Linked DNA regions of Homo sapiens: regions 1 and 2 are each linked to region 3. Evidence: promoter capture Hi-C in human tissues and cell types (Jung and others, 2019). All regions are on one chromosome and are shown on one strand. Each heading gives the region's core, a stretch centred on a gene start or on the middle of the fragment in contact. The rest is flanking DNA. Distances are from core to core; before and after follow the strand shown. Region 1 overlaps CNTNAP2 (contactin associated protein 2). Region 2 has its middle 7.0 kb from the start of CNTNAP2. Region 3 holds the start of TPK1 (thiamin pyrophosphokinase 1).

Evidence for each region. Contacts are between HindIII fragments. The study calls those that stand out against the background at their distance.
Region 1: a fragment that was not itself captured here is called in contact with the fragment with the promoter of TPK1 in region 3 in 1 of the 25 tissues and cell types used here (dorsolateral prefrontal cortex).
Region 2: a contact is called between a fragment that was not itself captured here and the fragment with the promoter of TPK1 in region 3, in 1 of the 25 tissues and cell types used here (dorsolateral prefrontal cortex).

The regions. Positions count from the first base shown.
Region 1 is chr7:146,127,363-146,131,289 of GRCh38, forward strand. All of the region lies in intron 1 of CNTNAP2 (contactin associated protein 2), which reads left to right. Among named protein-coding and RNA genes, the nearest start is that of CNTNAP2, 13 kb to the left of the region's middle. The HindIII fragment of the contact is 4,906 bases long and covers 1-3,927 here.
Region 2 is chr7:146,107,968-146,111,700 of GRCh38, forward strand. No RefSeq gene overlaps it. Among named protein-coding and RNA genes, the nearest start is that of CNTNAP2, 7.0 kb to the right of the region's middle. The HindIII fragment of the contact is 3,572 bases long and covers 404-3,733 here.
Region 3 is chr7:144,834,803-144,838,594 of GRCh38, forward strand. It overlaps TPK1 (thiamin pyrophosphokinase 1), which reads right to left and starts at 1,251. Exons shown (of 9, transcript NM_022445.4): 1 at 1,165-1,251; 2 at 758-816. The coding sequence starts at 800. RefSeq lists a silencer at 992-1,091 and an enhancer at 1,392-1,461. The HindIII fragment of the contact is 4,228 bases long and covers 869-3,792 here.

The DNA of each region.
Region 1 (3,927 bases), core at 993-3,492, 1.3 Mb after region 3:
CTTATAAGGAACACAGTGATCACAAATAATGAAAACCACCTCCAATTATCTGATATTAAAGTGAGAAATTACCCCATAGTATCGACAACAGAAGGAAGGCGAGAAATATATTTTCAAAGAATAAACCACAAATATTTTCCTCATTTTATAAGTAAATGTGTATCTATCATAAGGGAAATTTGAAACCATGCTGTGAAAGCTTACAACTTCTGCAACCCTTTTTCTACCGGATTTTATTTTAAAAGATTTTCTCTGCTTTTCTTAAGCCACATGGGTGATCACGTGCCTTTAAACCCAAGCCTGACTGTCCTTTCCACAAGCTATTATCTGAAGAATTATTTGTTATCTGCATGCAAATTAAAGACGTGTCAACAAAATAATTATTGCATCTAACAAGTACTTTAAATAGAGTACTTAAGATGTCACCAAATCTTCTAAATGATAGCTGTAGCTTCTGAAAAACTTGATAACTATATATATTTAGTGTGTAATAATCCAGCAGATGCGTTGATATTGTTGAAGTTGTTATGAAATGTCAATGAATTTCATTTCCACTTTTAATATGACAAAAATATAATTTTATAAGTATAAAAATAGTTACTTCTATTCTATTTGTTTATATTTTAAACTCCGTCTTCATCCTTACCTTTGCAACTTAGTACACACTTCTGAACCATTTCAAAGTTGGCCAGTCTAGCGAAGCCTGTTTCAAATTTTATATTCTTCACAATGATCCCTGCAGTGATGCCTACTAAAAACACATTACTCTCTTTTCTATTAGTCCACAATCTGCATGAGCAGAGCCTGTATTTTTTCCCTTAGGCTGATAGGTATTAGGGAATGGTTGTATTAAAGGAACTAGACTTTAGTAAACATGTTTCATCATATTAGGTACTGTACTGGTTGCATTATACCATTACATGAAATTAGCCCAAATACCTCTGTGCTGTAATATTCAAAGTATAAGGATGCTCAAGCATTTTAAAGCTCACTGGTTCCATCTTTATACAGTTCTTACTTTTGTCAAGTCCTTCCTTGCATTGATACAGATTTACACTCCCATAAATTCCAGCCAGTAGTTCTAGTTGGGCTTCTCAAATAAAAGCTTAATATTTACCCAATATTCTACTGCCGTAAAATACTTGAAGACAAATATAGAATCTAATTAAATATAATTTAAGACTTAGTCGCTACTACTTTTATAGATAGCCAACTAATACCTTGAAGACAAACACATTCCTTAAAACACTGTGATTTATATTTACTTATGTCCTCCAAATTACCCAAATATTTCTAGGTACACAACCAGTGTTAAATAAATACAATTGAAAATGGAATTGAAATGGGTTAGCTCTGTATACAAATTGTTTCTTAAAGTGCTTATAGCTAGGTTATAGCAACAAATATACATTGTTGTGTTTTGATAGCTAAAAGCATCATACTAAGAAGTATTATAATTGTAATATAATGTTAGTTGCAAACAAGTGTGTCTGTAAGTAATCTTGGTATTACAGAAAAAAAAACTGCCTTAAAACTTACATATCTGTATGAGTCAAAACCAAAAATGAAACAGAAATATTTAAAGGGACTGTTGTTTAAAAGTAATAGGACAACTACAGTTATTTTAAAAGATAGTTTATACTTATTTGCTCAGTGTGAAATAAAACATTTTTAAATTTTAATTTATTATCTACTCTTTGCCCAAAGTATATTAGAAAAATGTTACTGCAATTTGAGTAGTCTTCATATTGTGATAAAATAGGTAATTATTATATGCAATAATCTGAGGCATTTTCGTTTTACAGAGCATATAATCACCCACGTATCAATTTTTGGAATTTAAAATGTGTTGTTGGCACAATTAGAATCATGTATCTACTTTCAAAGAGAGATTTCAGAATATTGCAAATAAAAATGACATTGTTTCTTTTATCAAATTGGCATCAATAGGGCCTTTTTTTCAAAAAAAGCTTTTAGATCTGCTATTTGTTCATTTATATGTGTATAATTACAGTATTCAGAGGATCTCTCATGCTGTGTTTGTTTCCACATATGGATTTTCAAATGACAAAGTCTCAAGTGGTGGCGCTAAAGACAAACCATGCTAGCTACTCAAGCATTTCCTTCCTGGAGTTGTACTGTGTCAACTGCTCCCTAAGAAATGGGTAAAGAGGGACTACTCAGAAACATGCATTGAGCATCAGCATGTTTTTGAAAGATTAATCTTCTAGACCTGGAACTAAAAGTATCTTCCAGTTATTTTCTTTATTATCCACTTTATCAGCTTCCACATAACACATTCAGTTTTCTACATTTTAGTTTAAAAATTGCCATTTAATTCTATGCTTCTATGAAGTCACATATCCTACTTATGCTTTCTTAATTTCAAAATTATTTGCACTGTCCATTTTATAATATTTTATCTATCTTAATAATTTACCTTAAAGTTCTCTTTTATTGAATAGGTATGACAACATAGAAATTAAAATTATTGAATCATTCCAATTAGTCCACAGGTAAGGTCATCAGTGAGTGATTAAGGAAACTCTTTCTGTTATAACATTTTAGCTAAAACCTAAAGAAAAAGCCAAGCAAACAGCAGGAAAAGACTGTTCCAAGAAAAAGAGGACAACCTCACAATTCCAACATTGGCCAAGTTTGGAAGTCACTTTGATGAGGAGATATTTAGTGGTTTTGGAATTAGTCTTCTGTTAAACGTGTAATGAAAAGAAAATTTTGAAAGAGTAAATTATCCCGCTTAATTGTCTATCAGCAAATAGAAAAGAAATTTTCACTGGTTAGAAATATAGGCAGTCGGGCCGGGCGTGGTGGCTCATGCGTATTATCCCAGCACTTTGGGAGGCCGAGGCAAGAGGATTGCTTGAGGCCAGAAGTTTGAGACCAGCCTGAACAACATAGCAAGACTTTCTCTCTACAAAGAAATATTTAAAAACTAGCCAAGTGTGGTGGTGTGTGTCTGTACTGTAGTCCTAGCTACTGGAGAGGCTGAGGTGGAAGGATTGCGTGAGCCCCGGAGTTCAAAGCTACAGTGAATAATGATTGCACCACTGCATTTCAGCCAGCTGAGACAAGAGTGAGACTCTGCCTCTTAATAATTTTTTTAAAAAGAATTTAGGTCAGTATTAAAGTTTGTGATAATTCAATTATATTTAGCTTAGAGAATTTTGCTAATAAAAATAACTTTGATAATTTAACACATATGTATGTTATTGAAACAGCAAGCATTTTGAAGAGGCAATTTTCTAAATAACCTTTATTTCAAAGTGTATTGTTTATTGCTGTGTTAGTTTGTTTTCACACTGCTATAAAGGAATACCAGAGACTGGGTAATTGATAAAGGGAAGAGGTGTAATTGACTCACAGTTCTGCATGGCTGGGGAGGCCTCAGACAACTTACAATCATGGCAGAAGGCAAAGGGGAAGCAAAGGCACGTCTTACATGGTGGCAGATGAGAGAGAAGAGCATGAAGCGGGAGGATCCCCACACTTAGGAAACAACCAGATCTTGTGAGAATTCACTCACTATCATTTGAACAGCATAGGGGAACCATCCCTATGATCCAGTCACCCCCAACCAGGTTTCACCCTTGGCACTTGGGGATTAAGAGGGTTACAATTCAAGATGAGATTTGGGTGGGTTCACAGAGCCAAACCATATCAATCGCTGACTTTAAAGAAAACGAATAATATTGTTTCCAATCTTTACATAGTTTCACATAACATTTTTGAGAGTATAACTGTAACCCAACATTTACAATATATTTGTAGTTATTTTTTAATGTGAATAAAGGTAATATGACTCATATTCTTAAGAATTTCCCCTTGGCATTACTATGTTCTACTGTTTCAAAAGTTTGCTTACTTTAATAAGATTTCAATTATTTGGATTGTTAATACATTGAGATA
Region 2 (3,733 bases), core at 940-3,439, 1.3 Mb after region 3:
CAGTTTCAACTTGCTGCATGGACTCTTGAAGATTTAAGGAGATGAAGAGAAGTAGAGAAAAAGCAATTTTAACATAAAGTCACACTAACTCTGGAATCAGAAATATTTCAATCTAATTCAATTTTAGTAGATAAAGTTGAAATGATAATTGCATTATCAAATTAATGAATTCTCAAAGAAAGATTAAATTACATTCAATCTACTCAACATACTAAAGCAGATATGTGAGCTAGTATACATTAGAAATATTCTTAAACAAGATATAAATGAAAACACCATCTCCTCTCTCTCCTCCCTGTTCCTGGATAAATGGTAATTACGTGGAAATTTCAATAGACTAAGTTATCATTAATTATTATATTATCACATAAGCTACCGTGATGATCATTCAATTGTAATAACACAGTTATTTGGATCTTAGCAGAATTACTATAATAGGGGAACCTTAAAATTTATATATTCAAGTGAAAAAACATATTTGAAAAGAAGAATTAAACATGTTTGTACTAAAGCATTTAGTTAGTCATTTCTGAAATGTATTTTATAATCATCACATAGTTCAAACTGAAGTAAAATTTATTATTTGTTCTAGGTATTTGATATAAAAGACAACTTTAGTTTCCATAATTGCCTTCAGCTCTGCAAAAGTAAAAGAGGGCTTCATGTTTCCTATTGTTTGATGGGAGGGTGCATTCTTACATGAAATTAGGTTCAGTAAGAACTATGGAAGCAAGCTGTAAATGTTTTGGCAGTAACTATGCAAACTAGCTTAAACATTTAGGCAGTAATTATCATCTCAAATTTTGGTGCACTATATAGCTCCACTATTGCAAATTGAGGACATAGTAAATAAATTTGTAGAGAGATTTAAATCAATTCATCTTTCCAGATGAAAAAAAATTTAGTAATCTTTAGTTTCAAGTCAGTAATGTCAACTCCTACCATGTGAACAATAAATGATCATTTGTTCTTTTGATTGTTTACTTTGTTCTTTAAATGTCCAGATTCTCCAGAATAATATGCCCTGTTTGCTATATTATTTTATCTGGTCTATCTGACTGCTGACTTCAATCTAATCACTGGATTGGGTTTTGGATGCTACCTAATGTCATTCAACTTTGTCAGTAGATCTAGCATTTTCAAAAACTAATAAGAGGAAAATGGAATATGAAATTCCAAGAAATACTCCAGGAAAATATTGAGGATCTCAGATGTTTGGACATTCAACAAGCAGACATCATATTGTATGGAATGTAAAGAGGTAACAACTTGGAAATTGCTGTAGTCTGAATGTGTACCCTCAGACGTCATATCTTGAAATCCTAAGCCTCAAGTTAATAGCATTAGAAGATGAGGTGTTTGGCGGTTGGGTCCATTATGAGGACAGAACACATGTGAAAGGGATTAGTGTCCTTATGAAAGTGGCCTGGGAGAATTTTTATTCTTCTATCAAGGGAGGACACAGCTAGAAGGTACCATTTATGAGAGAGAAACCCTCACCAGACACCACATCTGCAAGCACATTATCTTGAACTTCTCAGCCTCCAAAACCGAAAAATAAATGCGTGTTGTTTATAAGCCACCCATTTTATGGTTTATTTTCTAAGAAACCATCTCCTAAAATTGAGTTAAGTGTTTATAATTTATTTGCTAGATGGTGTGTTTTCTTAACCTTTATTTGTTGTAAATGCTGCTACTAAAAGTTGATTTTTGGCTTTCGCATGAACCCCATTATAACTATGTACTCTCCAATTTGCTACATGTCTAGAAGAACACTAACAATAAAGAAAATGGGACCTGCCAGCATCATCCTAGACTCTACATCTCAGAAATGAGCTTATTCTTTTCTAGACAGAGCATATAGCACTAGCCCTAATATTCAATATGGCTGGAGTGCACCATTTTTCTTTACTGACACTAAAAGCTTCTTAGTGCAAGGGTTTTCTCTCCTTAAGTCAACTGAAGATACTATAGTTGATCTTGGTCCAGAAATATATCCTTGGGGATGAGGCAGAATGATAAACTTTTATCAACCCAGGAAAAAGACAAAGTCTGTAAATTCTTCTAGATGATCTTACTTCTTCCAAATATCCTTTGTCTGACACCACACTAATTCCATTTTCCTTTTTATTCCACTGAGTTGCTAAATTTTGTCAAGAATGTGACAATTTAGGCAAGCTTGTTTGTCAAATGTTTAAATCCATCTTTTGCCCCAAATAAAACAACTCTGCATCCTTCCCATGGCTATCTACACAATATTCATTATCATCAGTCTCACCCTATTTTGAAAGTTTAAGGATTTTATGGGTTTTCTTAGAAACCAAATGAAGTACCATACATGAGAATGTGTGTCGACATTAAGTAGATTTGGAGCATTCCATAATATTCCTCTAGTTCCACTTAGACCAAAGATGATAGTCTGTATCAGCTACTGCCTTTTTTTCTTCCTGTAGTCCTCACAAATCATTTTTAATTTTATTTACATTTGTTCTTTACATACAAGCTCATCTCCTCTTAAGTACCTGAACAAAGTATCACAATACCTCTCCTCCATTATTTAGAACCAGATAATATCCCAGGGCTGGAATTCAGTGGTCATGACTATTGTTTTCATTTGCTATTTCAATATGCACCTCTGTATTCACTTACTACCAAAAAGATTTCACAGGCCCCATTCCAAGAGGAAGTCACAGACATAGACATAACCCTCCAGTTCAAGTCATTTCTATCTTTAAGCCAAATCAAAGAAATTGTATTTGGAATGAAGGCTGTTGCCTAATTCTTCATAGAATTTTATCCATCTCCTCTTCTATGCTCTCACTCACCCTCGTTCCCCTGAGATGAAATCATATTAACTCTTGATGTTTATTAACCCAAATATTTTCCGTGGACTTACTGATCTCCTTTTTGGGAGTAAATTCTACCCAATTCCCTGTGGTCTAAAATGTATAATCATGACATCAGTAGAAGGATAAAAGTTTAAATAACCTGTCTGACAAGAAAAGTCCACATAAAACTTCACACAATCTGCTGTTAAAGTAGTAATAGCATACATCTCTAAATTCAGACTAAGATACTTTCCACAGCCTAGCTACTCATGTCACAAATTTCACACAAAAGTCAGCAAAATCTGCATTCGCCTATGTGATTTAGACACATTACTCAATTCTATCAAATCAAATGACCTGAGTTATAAAATCTAAAGGTCTTTAAGCCCTTGCCCATAAGACTGTGCTTCATAAATGTACTCAACAGCCTTCCTATTATAGTTTAGTATTTTGCATTAAAACAAACCTTTGATGATAAATTGCAAACTGTGAGCTGGTTATACTGTAACAAGTCCTACTTCCTGCTGCAGGCAGTCTACTTTGGGTAGCCATACTGATTAGACCAACTACCCTCCAACTTAATCCTGGATTTTTTCAGGAAACAATCCACTCATAAACTTGAATATTTCAGCAGCAACCACTTCTGGAACTGCAATTCTGAGAGCCTGACTGCCTCTCTGTAACCAGCCTGTAACGCTGAAAGGCCTTTTTCTCCCCTCTCCTTCATCTCCTGAAACTACTGCTTTAGGAAATGGGTCCTCCTTGTTGCTTAGACAGTCTGTACATCTATAACATAAGGTCTAGTCTCAATGGAGTAGTAATACTTTAATGCTTAGAATAATTTTAAACAACTCTATTTTTCTCTCTTTTAATTGAAACAAAGATAATTTTCAAAATCTTAAGAA
Region 3 (3,792 bases), core at 1-2,500:
GCCAGCCCATTCACCAGATGAGGCAAAAACCCAAGATAAATATCTGAGCAAGTCACGTAGACTGGGGCCCCCGAGCCCCAATACCAAGCGCCCCTTTATAAGCTCTTACATTTTGTCCAAATTTGAAATGGTTTCGTTAAGGCAGAAGCTTGGACTACTTCCCCATTGCTAGCTTTGGAAAGTAGTCACTTTCCTTTCCGGGCCCTTCGTCCTTGTTGATTGGCTCTGCAAGCAGCGAGCAGCCCAGCCTGAACTCGGTTACACAGTAATTTCAAATCTTAGAAGAATAAAATATCCTGAGTGTTATATAGATTTAAAACACTTGATATAATCATTTGCCAATCTTTTATTAGATAAGCTCGGGGCACTTTCAATGGATTAAAAATGCATCACGGTCAGGCAACGATGACCGTCCTTAATGCCTGCAATGTCTAATGTTCCGCTATGTTCCAGATTTGTTCGCGCTGTTGGTGGAGGCGCAACAGCCGGGAAGCGCTTACTGGGCTCCACACGGACTACACACACTGTATCTTGTCATTTCGTCCTCACAGCAAGGACTGATACGTAAGCTCATTTTTCAGATGAGGAAAATGAGACCGGCGAGAGGCTGATATGCTTAGCGGTACAGAGCTAGGAAATCAGGGACAGAACCCAGGCTGGAAGTCACGCTGGCTCTAGAGCCCCGTCCTTTCGACCTGTTCCCGTCGCTGGGGAGGGGCACGTCAGTGACACTAAACCGTGGAAAGAAATACAGTACCAGTGGAAAGCAGGGGCTCCAACGGGGTAAAGGCATGCTCCATAACGGATTATTGGCCTCTGCATTAAAAAAAAAAAAGTGAAGTTAGACTCTCAGTTTTAATTAAACATCGCGCAGAACCAACAGCACGGGAGCCGCCTGAACCTGGCACTCGGCAGCGGCGCGCTCCGGGACCCAGGAGCCAGCTGAGCTGCGGCGCAGCACCCGGCGCTGGGGACCCGCCACGGCTCGCCTACAGCACCGCCGCGGGCGGGGGCCCCCGGAGACCGGCCGCGCGGGCCGCTATGAGGTCCGAGGGGTTGCCCCTGCCGCCTCTCTCCGCGAACCCATCACCATCCGGGAACCTGGGGAGCGAGAGGCGGCCGCCCCCTTCCGCGGCCCGCGCGCCCGGCAGCAGTCGCACTTACACAATGGCTGGTAGGAGCCACAGACTGGAGATCGCAGGCTGCGGGAGCTACGGCGATCGACCGCTCGGCGCTCGGCTGAGGAGCCTTGGCGCGCGGTCCTCGCTCGCAGGTTTTAGCCCCCGGGACGCGAGGTGGCCCCGCCCGCTTCCGGGAGCCGGAGGCAAGTGGGAGCCGCGCCCTGTGCTCTGCGTCCGGCACTACCCACCTCAAGTCTCCAAGGCTTCGTTTTCTGGGCTGGTTCTGCTAGCTGTAGTACTGCTGCCGGGCCCTCTGCACTCAGCTTTAACAAGGAGGCCATTTGCTTCAAACTAAGTGGCGAATTCCCTATCACCCATGCTTGACCTAGCTTCCAAGCCAAACTTACTTTCCACTGTGCTGCTTCTAGTCCTGCTACCGGTGTCCTCCCTGAGCCGTCGGGTTAAAAGCTTTCCTTCCTGGCCGGGTGCGGTGACTCACGCCTGTAATCCCAGCAGTTTGGGAGGCCGAGGCGGACGGATCATGAGGTCAGAAGTTCGAGACCAGCCTGGCCAGCATGGTGAAACCTCGTCTCTACTAAAAATACAAAAAATTAGCCGGGCATGGTGGCGCGCGCCTGTAGGCCCAGCTACTCGGGAGGCCGAGGCAGGAGAATCGCTTGAACCCGGGAGGCCGGAGGTTGCAGTGAGCCAAGATCACACCAGTGCACTCCAGTCTGGGCGACAAAGCGAGACTCCATCTCAAAGAAAAAAAAAAAGCTTTCTTTAGGGAACACTCCGTTAAGAGCTTTCCTTACTTTGCTTTGTGGAAACAGAATGTTTTTGTTGGAAGAAACTTTAAGCCACCTATCTGCAGCTGCAGAGCGTCACTGTTGCAATACAGGCTTTTCCAATAGTGAGCGAACCTAATCTCCCTCTACCCTCTTAAGGTTTCCACCTGGGCCTAAGAGGTTAAATTGACTTAAGACAGTTTAACAGGGGAAAAGCTTACAGCTATGTGCATGGGAGTCCACAAGAAAAGACCCAAAGAAGGAGGAAGCCTAAATGCTTATATACGGGTTTAGCTACAACAAATTTCAAAAGTCCATGTTTAAATATGACCTTAATGAACCTAAAAGACAATTGGGGTACAAGGAAACTATCTGCACATGTAATAGACAAGTGGTTGCCATGTGTTTATCCTATGAAGAGCTGTTACCAGTTGATGTGTCCAGGTTCTTGGCGTCTTGAACAAAGAATTGGACAAAACGCACAAAGCAAGGAAAGAATGAAGCAAAAACAGAGATTTATTGAAGATGAAAGTACACCCCATAGGTTGGGAGCGCCCGAGGATAGGGGCTCAAGAGTGCCGTTAGAGAATGTTCTGGGGTTTAAATGCCAGCTAGAGGTTTCCATTGGTTACTTGGCTTATGCCCTATGTAAATGAAGAGGATGAAGTAAATTTTAAAGTCATTTACTGGATATAAGCCCTGTGTAAATGGAGAGGATGTTTCCTGTCATTGCTGAAGTACTGCAATTTGATTTAGTTCCAGGAAGTCAGCATGAATCGGCCTTAACATTCCCTGCCTCCAGACCCTATTCTGCCTCAGAACTACATGTCCATTAGTAAAAGGCAAACCAGAAAAATTATGACCAAGGATATAAACAGGCAAGGCAAATTATAGAAGGTAGTCAAATGGCAAAAACACATCACCAATATTCAGAACGAAATCTTGAACAATGAATTCAATGGCAGATTGTAACCAATTTTTTAAGCAGTAATAAAAATTTACACTTACTGATCAATTATTATGTTCCAGTCAGTGTTGAGGTCTTTTATATTTTATTTAATTACCCTAAAATGTAGGCTCCAGGAAAACAAGGACCAAAATTTAGTTGTTGGCCCTTGAATCCTCACTCTAGCACAGTTTACTTGTTAATGATTTGTCTCCCCCTACTAGAGAGCTAGCTCTCTAAGGGCAGGAGCCTTGTCTATTTCCTTCCCTGCTATTTCTCCAGCCACACAGTGTGTCTCACCAAGATAAGTTCAGTAAATGTGAAATAAATTAACAAATAATGGGAAAAAAATGGAGAATTATGGTACTTCATACCAGGAATTACAGGCATACCTCCTTTTATTGTGTTTAGCTTTATTGTGCTTTACAGATACCGCTTTTACAAATTGAAAGTTTGTGGCAAGCCTGCATCAAGCAGGTCTATCTGCAACATTTTTCCGAAAGCGTGTACCTGCTTCGTGTCTCTGCGTCATATTTTGGTAATTTTCACAATACTTCAAATATTTCCATTAATATATTCATTACAATCTGTGATTAGTGATTCTTAATGTTACTCTTGTCATTGTTTTGGGGTGCCACCAGCCATGCCCTTATAAGACGGCAAACTTAATAGATCAATGTTGTGTGTTTCTTACTGCCCCGGGACCAGTACATTCTCCTGTTTCTCTCTCCCCGTGGGCCTCCCTATTCCCTAAGACACGACAGTATTGAAATTAGGCCATTTTATATTCCTACAATGGCCTCTAAGTGTTTAAGTGAAAGGAAGAACTGCATGTGTCTCACTTTAAATCAAAAGCTAGAAATGATCAAGATTAGTGAGAAAGTTTTGTCAAAAGAAAGCTAGGCTTTTTGTATCAGTTAGCCAAGTTGTGAATGCA